3 separate regions of the Homo sapiens genome follow, and all the other regions are linked to region 2. The links are contacts of gene promoters, found by promoter capture Hi-C in human tissues and cell types (Jung and others, 2019). All regions are on one chromosome and are shown on one strand. The core of a region is centred on a gene start or on the middle of the fragment in contact, and the rest is flanking DNA. Distances in the headings are between cores, read along the strand shown.

Region 1 (2,917 bases), core at 21-2,520, 210 kb before region 2:
TGAAATGGCAATTCCTTTGAGCCAGTCTGTCTGAAGTTGGCAGCAAAGGGGAAGCAGAGGAAGGGAGCAGGAAGTGCAGAGGTGGAAATACAACCAGAGAAAATTCCACTCTCAGGCTGTCACCCATGTCCTCCCCAGCAGCCTCTTCCCTGCCTCCCCCATAGCATGGCCTTCTTGGAGTTGCCTGGCAATAGGAAGGGGCTGGGAGTAGACAAAACATGGCAGAGGCATTAGGAGAGGAAGTGGTCCCGCCTGTATCCCAGGAAGGAATTGCTCCGGTCTTGAATTTTTCGCTCTGAATTTTACTCTCACTGTTCTTTGGCCTTTGTTGCCAATTTCAGTTGAACTGGCTTATTCTTACTCTTTCTCAGAAAAGTTTATTCTAAACAGCCAGTCCTGTACCTGGTGTGCAGGGTACGAGGCTTGGAGGTGGAGTGGGCAAGTTTGAGCCTCTACTAGAAACGCGACCTTTGATCTGTCCCTTAACCTCTCTGAACCTCAGTTTCCTCACCAGTAAAGTGGGACTCAGAAAACCTATCTCATGAGATTGCTGTAAAAGGAAATAAGCAAGCTGTGAGTCATATGCAGATTATAAAGCACAAACAAGTGTAGTGTATTTATCCAAGCTTCATGTACCACAGTGTTCATTGCGTGGGCTAATTCCAGGTGACAACTTTACTGGCAGCATCACTTCTTGTGGATTTCAGAGGAGCGTGAAGACATTAAAGTTTTAACCACTGCCCTCAGCTAGACAGCTGGAATATCAGTTCATTGGTCGCTAACTTTCAGCATTGCTATCTGCTTTTCAAATCTGATGAGTTTTTCATGGAAATTCCTCATTTAAGCCCATCAGCAATTCCCTAGTAATGGCTCCACTCTCCTCCCAATTGCCCAAGGAGGAAACCATAGGGGTGATTTTGTCTTCTTTTTCTCTCAGCCCAGATCCAGTAGGTATCAGGACCTTCAAGGTAAGGTCTGAAATTCAAACCTGTTTTATCTCTCCCCTGCTCTGCTTCCACTGCTGGACCCTGCTTCCAGTCCTCATCGAAACTTTGGCACAGATACTCTGATTAATATCTTAATTACCTTACTTTCTCATATCCCCTATACCAGTCCATTTTATATCCTCAAGCCAATGTTGACTTCCTACATTACAATTCTGCTTCTGTTTCTCTGTCTCTCTTTTTTTATTAACAGGGTTTGGCTGTGCCACCAAGGCTGGAGTGCAGAGGTATGATCTCTGCTCACTGCCACCTTCACCTCCTGGGCCCCATTCATCCTCCTGCTTCAGCCTCCCGAACAGCTGGGACTATGGGCAAGCACCACTACGCCTGGCTAATTTTTGTGTTTTTAGTAGAGACGGGGTTTCACGAGGCTGTCCAGGCTGGTCTTGACCTCCTGGGTGCAAGCAATCTGCCCACCTCAGCCTCCCAAAGTGCTGGAATTACAGGTGTCAGCCACCATGCTCTGCCTGTTTCTCTACTTATTCCAAATATAAATAAGGGATTTTCTTTGACATGGTGCTGGAGACCCAAAATCATGATCCCGCATCACCAGCAGAATTAAATTCAAATTTTCCCTCTTATACCCAACTCTCCACAGTCACCTTACTCTCTTTAAATATTTTAGTGAGTCTCCCATGACTCTAGAAATGCTTATATTCCAAGCACACCTGACAGCTCATTGCTCAGATTACTTTTCTTAAATGAGATGGGGTAGAAACAGATGTTTGCTCTTTCCCAATAAATTGCTACATATTCTGACTTCTGTGTCCCTGTTTACTTGTTCCTTCCATGGAATGTACACCCTCCACTCCAACACCCTGACTCTAGCCATCCTCGAACATCTATGTAACAACATCTTTATCAGTTTCAGAAATCGTTTCAGAAATCGTTCTGATAACCTGACCGGTGTTCACACAGAGCTCCAGAACAAGACCAAGCTGACGGTGCTGGAAGGAGACATTCTGGATGAGTCATGCCTGAAGAGAGCCTGCCAGGACATGTCGGTCATCATCCACACCACCTCCATCATAGACATCATCGGTGTCACTCACAGAGAGTCCATCATGAACATCAATGTGAAACGTACAGTAGCCTGGGGAGGAGATGAAGCAAGGTGGGGAATTAAGGATCACAAAGAAGGACAGGAAGGGAAAAGAAGTCTCTCCACTGAACACCTGCTATGCTCTGGACCAAGTGTCTTTGCTGATCACTACCAACTGGGGGAGTTCAAAGCTGCTATCTTCAGTTTTTTACATGAGGAAACCAGTGCTACAGATGGCAAGTAACTTGTCCAAGGCCCCCCCAGGTAAGTAAGTAAATAGGAGAGTTAGACTTTAAACTCACCCCTGTGTGACTCCAAAGGCTGTGGACACTCTTTCTATAGTGGCTTCAATCAAAAGTCAACTAAATTCCAACTTCAGACTCTTGATATCCCTCTATGGGACAGAATCAAACCTTCCAGGTGCCACCATAGTCATCATTGTGCTACACACAAGTCACCTTGTGCGTAGGCTTATGATAATGAAATGGGAAAAATTCCCTCATCCCCCTCACCAGGCATGCAATGAGGGTGTGGCTTGCTTCTTCAATGCCTCACTGCTCAAACCTCTGTGGGAGCATAGAGACAGGCAGGCTGTGGGACTCCGACACCATAGCAGTGTCTGGGGTGAATGTTTACAGCTCCTGAAGCCTCAGTGGGTGTGTGTTACATGGTGCTCTTTTAGTCTTGCTCTTTTAGTTTTGACATCTACAGGCGGCTTGTTTTAACCAGCTAAATTAGACCCTCTACCTTGTCGGAAGGTCAGAGGGCTTTCTGTATCCTGGGTTCTTGTTTTGGTTACCAGAGAAATTAGATCACACCTGGGCTTGGAGAATGAGTGCCAGGTTTTGTTGAGTGAAGGTAGCTCTCAGCA
Region 2 (2,868 bases), core at 352-2,851:
TAATTTTGGTATATTAAAGAAGAACCTTAGTGTTTTAAAATATTTTATAATTACTAATGAAGTTGAACATCTTTTTATATAATGATTTGCTTTTAGTATTTGGTGAATTTTCATTTTACAGTTTTGCACATTTTTCTATTTCATTGTTTGTGAGATCTTTTTTGTATGTTTATTTGTGAGATCTTTTTTGTATGTTTATTGCCTTTCACGTGTTACTAATAGTATTTCTCAGTTTGTATTTTTCTCTTACTTATTATAATTTTTGCCATTCTGAAATTTTCAAAAATATTGTTATTTTTTATGTTTTTAAAAATAATTTTTAAATTTATATCAAAAGACTGGCCATTACTGTCACATAAGGTTAAAATATTTATCACTGTTCTATTTTCATCTGTCTGGGCTTTGTTTTAACATAAGTATGAAACTGAGTTCTGGATTTCCCTCCCAAATAATTCTTAAAATGAGTTAATTCATTGAATTCACATTTAATCATACTTTATGATTAAAAAATCTGAATATACAATCTAACTCTCAAATAATGGATTGCTTAAAGAGAATAATGTAAATGATGACTTTTCTGGAAAATCAATTCTGGGGTCCATCTGAACACTTTAAGGCAACATTAACTGAGAATGAGACAAAGCTTGGAGAGTGTGGATGTGACCTTCCCCACCCCTTACTTCTTTTTAAATCATTGCGTGAACCTTGCACTTTGCTAAACTTTCCTTCCAAAAGTAATAGTGTATTTTCAATGTCCTCAAACCCCTTTAAAACGCAAACAGAATTTCTCTGTCAAGGTGACCATCTGGGGGAAGGGAGAGGCAGCATCTTTTTTACTAATCTGTGAATAATTTTTAGTGAACTGATATTCATTGAATGTCTGCATGTCATGTTCATAAGTAAGCTGCACTGGGCCGGGTGTGGTGGCTCATGGCTGAAATCCCAGCACTTTGAGAGGCTGAGGCAGGTGGATCACCTGAGGTCAGGAGTTCAAGACCAGCCTGGCCAACATGGCACAACCCTGTCTCTATTAAAAAATACAAAAATTAGCTGGGCGTGGTGGCAAGTGCCTGTAATCACAGCTACTCAGGAGGCTGAGGCAGGAGAATCACTTGAACCTGGGAGGCAGAAGTTGCAGTGAGCCAAGATTGCACCATTGCTCTCCAGCCTGGGAGACAGAGCAAGACTCCATAAAAAAACAAAAACAAAAACAAAAACAGAAACAAAAACAAAAAACCTGCACTGTAGATCTCATGAATGCATGTTACAAATGAAGACACTGACACTTATGATTGAGTAACTTTTCTAAAGTTTCCCAGCTACCAGACTGCAGAGCCAAGATTTAACCCAACAGCTTGACACCAAAGCCAATGCTCTTTGCAGTGAAGGAAGAAAAGAAGGTAAATAATTTAAATCAAACAACACAGCAACAGAAAGCCTGACAAGCCTCACTAGAAATACAATTTGTCATTTCTGGCCTGGCTAATAGCTGACAGAGGAAAACAGATGTTTAAAGAAAGTCCCCCATCATCAACCGCGAGGAGGATTACCTGTTTGGCAACCAAGACTCTAAGGGCCCCTGCCTTCTTCAGTGTCTCCAGTGGTCCCAGTCAACGTTTCTGGAGCTTTTATATCTTCTTGCCTCAGGAATTAATAATCTTTACTTTAGTCACAAAGCGATAATATTATTTGAGAAAAACAATCCATCCATAAAAGTCTTATCTACAGTGAAAAAAATGAATCATATAAGAGACGGCTTCAGAATGTACGTAAGGTGTGCTTTGACTAGCCAGGAAAAGAACCTCTCCCTGTGTGCAAACAGAATCTTTTCTTCACATCACGTTATTAAAACTGACAACATCCTGTAATCTGTTATAAGCCCATCTTCCTCTCCCCTTATGTTACTTTTTCATGGCTGTCTTTTTATGCCTTGGTATGGTGGATTTCCTTTATTTCTCTTTTATTTCTAGAAGGATTTTCTGTCAGGGTCAGGAATAGGTTATGACCCATGCGGTGAGACTTGAGACCCACACACAGATTTTCCTTCCTAAAGCACCGACTCCACTCCTTCAACATGCGTGAGTTTCCTCAGAGATCTACTATTTGAGCTTCTCCCGCAGAACATGGATGATCATGTCAAAATAGCTTACATCAACAGAGTGTGTTACAATAACGGGTTTTCAGTGAAGTCATCAAATAAGATGCCAACAAAATCCTTGTGAGCAGCATAGGACACATATCCCCATTACACACTCAAGAAACCCAACCTTAAGAGAGATTAGAAACCTTCCGAGGTTCACAACACTGGTCAGCAGTGGACCTGGACACTGAACCTTGTCCTTCTGACTCCAAATATAGGTGTTTGCCAAAATACAGTTCTACTGAAAAATAGGCTATTTGAAAAGAGTAACAAGATTTTCTTTTCCAGTATAGATGGCAAAGGGTTAGGTTGTAGGTGCCAGAGATGACTCAACTTTAAACTACAGATTTAAGTCTGTAAAGGACCTTTATGTCTGGAAACTTTAAGTCTGGAAGGGACCATAGTAGTTATCAAATCTTACTCTTTTGTTCTACTGGTGAGGAAATTGAGGCCTAGAGAAACATTGTGACTAGTTTAATGCACAGACAGTTGTGGGTGAAGCTGATATCAGAAGCCAGCTTCCTTGCTCCCAGCTCACTGTTGTTTGGAAAATGCTACTCAACCTTTGTTATTAGATTTTTGCATCAGTTGTGTAAATTCATGGTAGGACATGAGAAAGTAATGCTTTCATGGTTCACAAAGAACATTTTAAAGAATCTCTCCCATCAGAATGTTTGACACAAACCTCTTTCTCTTTAGGCAGCTGGATGGGAATCATCATTGCTTCA
Region 3 (3,130 bases), core at 83-2,582, 130 kb before region 2:
TCTTGATCTCCTGACCTTGTGATCCGCCCGCCTCGGCCTCCCAGAGTGCTGGGATTACAGGCGTGAGCCACTGCGCCCGGCCTCTTTCCTGTCTTTCAGCTCTGCTCCTCTCAATTCCCCAATAACACAATCCCTAGTCTCCTAAGAGTGGGCCCCAGGATAGTCTGCAAACTCATCACCTTCTAAGGGGGACTGCTGTCACTGAGTGGTCCCAAGTGGGCACTAGAGGCCAGTGTTGCAATGTTTTCAGTCTTTTCAAAAGAAATAGAAATCTTTATTATCTTGTGAAATCCCTTAGTTTGGAGCCAATATTGGCTCCAATTACTTTTGAAACACTCCATGGGCCAAAAAGCACTTGTGTTTATGGCCAACAATTAGTAACCCATCAAAGAGGCTCTCTGGACTGAGTGTAGTGGCTAATGCCTGTAATCCCAGCACCTTGGGAGGCCAAAGTAGGAGGATCACTTGAGCCCAGGACTTGGAGACCAGCCTGAGCAACATAGCAAGACCCCGTCTCTACAAAATTTAAAAAATTAGCTGAGTGTAGTGGCGTGGGTCTGCGGTCCCAGCTACTTGGGAGGCTGAAGTGAGAGGATTGCTTAACCCAGAAGGTTGGGGCTTCAATGAGCCATATTCTTGGCACTGCACTCCAGTGTAAGTGATAGAATGAGACTCTGTCTCAAGAATAAAAAAATTAAAAAATTAAAAAAAGAAGATTTCTAAGCTTCTTCCCAACGTTTCTGACACACTGTGACTCTAACCTCTGCCCACATTTCTACATGGCTAATTTTTAAATAAGGTCAACTGCTGATCCTAGGTCAGCAAGAACCACAAGGTCAGGAGTGTTCTTTCTTCGAAGTTTCAGGTTAATCAGTTTCTGTTTAGGAAAAAGAACAAGACTTCTCTTTAGGTAAGGTATCTACCAGAGCAGCCCCCACTCCCACCCGAAAGTCACCTGAATACAGCTATTTCCTGTGCCTCTTTCTGCTACAAATCTCTGCAGCATGTTTTGTTTTATGCATCAAAACTAGATCGACCTCTGCATTCTGATCATTCCCCCACGGTGTTGTCTTTTTCCAAACTTTCTGTTTTCATTAACTTAAAGTCTATGATGCTATCAAACTGATTAAGCTCATTCCAACCAAGCACCACATGCTGAAGCTAGTGAATCACATTGCCAGTTGGGCTTTAAAAAGAACAGGTTTGAATGTACATCCTAATGTATTATATACTATATTGTGAATATGGATTGTGTTGAAGCTATAATTATGAGGGATTTAATACATTGGGGTCTACATTCAACCCCGATGTACACATACTTATATATATGTAAAATGTTTAGCCCATTAACTTTGCCTTGCTGACAGTTGTGGGAAAGTTTCTAGAGTTGTCAGTCACAAGGTCTTGTGAGAATCTGATCTAAGCAACTCAGCCTTCCCTCAAGAAAAAAGCACTCATAAGCAAACAATTTCCCAAAGTCTGTGCATAGACCCTTAGGCATACCTGAACCCCAGGTAAGAACTCCTGCTGTATCAGTGAGGGGCAAGGCAACTGCTCAGAGCCTGTAGGTCTCATTTAATTTGAAGGTGGCTGGTTGACCCTAAGCTCTTTCTCAGTACATCACGCCTTCCAGTAGAACTGAACCAAAACTCTAAGACACCCTGTTTATGCTCCCTTGGGAATTTAGGGCCCTTACCATGTATAGCTTCTCTGGGGTGGTTTCTGATGCTCATCAATTCTCTGACATCAACTGGGTATGTTACCAGTGGAAGATATCCTGGTTATCGGTGGCAAATTCATATGTGTCTGCAGCAACCTCAATTCTTGCCTCCTCAGAAGAAAGAATTCAACTGAGGGGCATAAGGCAGAAAAAAGACTGAGGCAAGTTTCATTGTAGGAGTGGAAGTTTATTAAAAAGCTTTAGAGCAGGAAAGGAAAGTGCTTTCGGAAGGGACGCAAGTGGGCACTGAGAAGGTCAAGTGCCTGGTTTAACCATCATCCTAGGACTTTATAGGCTGGCAAACTCTGGCGTCTTGCGCCCCCTTTCCATGATTCTTCCCTTAGGGTGTGTTGCCTGCATGCACAGTGCCCTCCTTACCCTTGGGAATTGAGCACATGCAGTGTGTTTAGGAAGTTGTATGCATGCCCATCTGAGACTTTCTTCCCTTTTCTGGTGGAGTGCCACCAGAAGGTCATACTCCACCATTTTGTCTCTTAATGCGCAGGCCTGGGAAATTGCCTCTCTGGTGTCTGCTGTCAATCAACACTTCAGTGCAATGGGTATGGACCATCAAGAAATGGCCTCTCTCTGGAGGCTGGCTGCCAATTTATCGCTTTTAGAGAGGCAACGTGATAATCATCAAACCGTCACCTGCCATTCCTGGTGGGTGGGGGAGAGCCCTCTCCTGCCCCACTCACGCCTAACTACCTGTAACAGGTATCAAAAATTCAATTATGACACTATCTGGAGTTAGTGCAGACACAGATTAAGGGCTCAGTCCTATAAGACTGCACTGACTTCAAATGTCAGTCTCATCTGGGCCAGGCCACCCATGCTTCTGACCTACCAGCTATAAATCAAGGATTCCCAAGATCCCCTCCTCAAGTTCAATAATTTGATATAAGAGCTCACAGAACTCAGAAAAACAGTTTACTTACATTTACTGACTTATTATAAAGGATACAACTCAGGAACAGCCAAATGGAAGAGACGCAGAGGGCAAGGTATGGGGGAGTAGGGTGAGGGTGGCACAGAGCTTCAATGGCCTCTCTGGGTGTGTCACCTCCCAGCACCCAGTAGCTCTCTGAATCTATTGTTCAAGAGTTTATAGAGCTCAACAGGTCAGAGGGTGGGGCTGAAAGTTCCAACCCTCCAATCACTTGGTCTTTTTAGTGACCATCCTATTCTGAAGCTATCTAGGGACCCCATCTCAAGTTACCTTGTTAACATAAGTTTCAGTGTGATCTAACAGGGCTCATTATGAATAACAAAAGATAATCCTATCACTCAGGAAATTCAAAGGGTTTTAGGAGCTCTGTGCCAGGAACCCAGGATGAAGACCAAATACATTTTTTAAAATACTATCACAGCTTCTCTGTGCCATCCAGGCTTATTAAGATCATAACTGAT

Evidence for each region. Contacts are between HindIII fragments. The study calls those that stand out against the background at their distance.
Region 1: a fragment that was not itself captured here is called in contact with the fragment with the promoter of REG4 in region 2 in 1 of the 25 tissues and cell types used here (liver).
Region 3: a contact is called between a fragment that was not itself captured here and the fragment with the promoter of REG4 in region 2, in 1 of the 25 tissues and cell types used here (adrenal gland).

What each region holds. Positions count from the first base shown.
Region 1 is chr1:119,603,292-119,606,208 of GRCh38, forward strand. It overlaps the pseudogene HSD3BP5. Among named protein-coding and RNA genes, the nearest start is that of LINC00622, 5.5 kb to the left of the region's middle. RefSeq lists an enhancer at 1,422-2,621. The HindIII fragment of the contact is 3,391 bases long and covers 1-2,917 here.
Region 2 is chr1:119,809,859-119,812,726 of GRCh38, forward strand. REG4 (regenerating family member 4) reads right to left here and starts at 1,602. Exons shown (of 6, transcript NM_032044.4): 1 at 1,551-1,602. The HindIII fragment of the contact is 6,627 bases long and covers 1-2,868 here.
Region 3 is chr1:119,676,543-119,679,672 of GRCh38, forward strand. No RefSeq gene overlaps it. Among named protein-coding and RNA genes, the nearest start is that of ZNF697, 30 kb to the left of the region's middle. RefSeq lists an enhancer at 2,693-3,130. The HindIII fragment of the contact is 5,689 bases long and covers 1-3,130 here.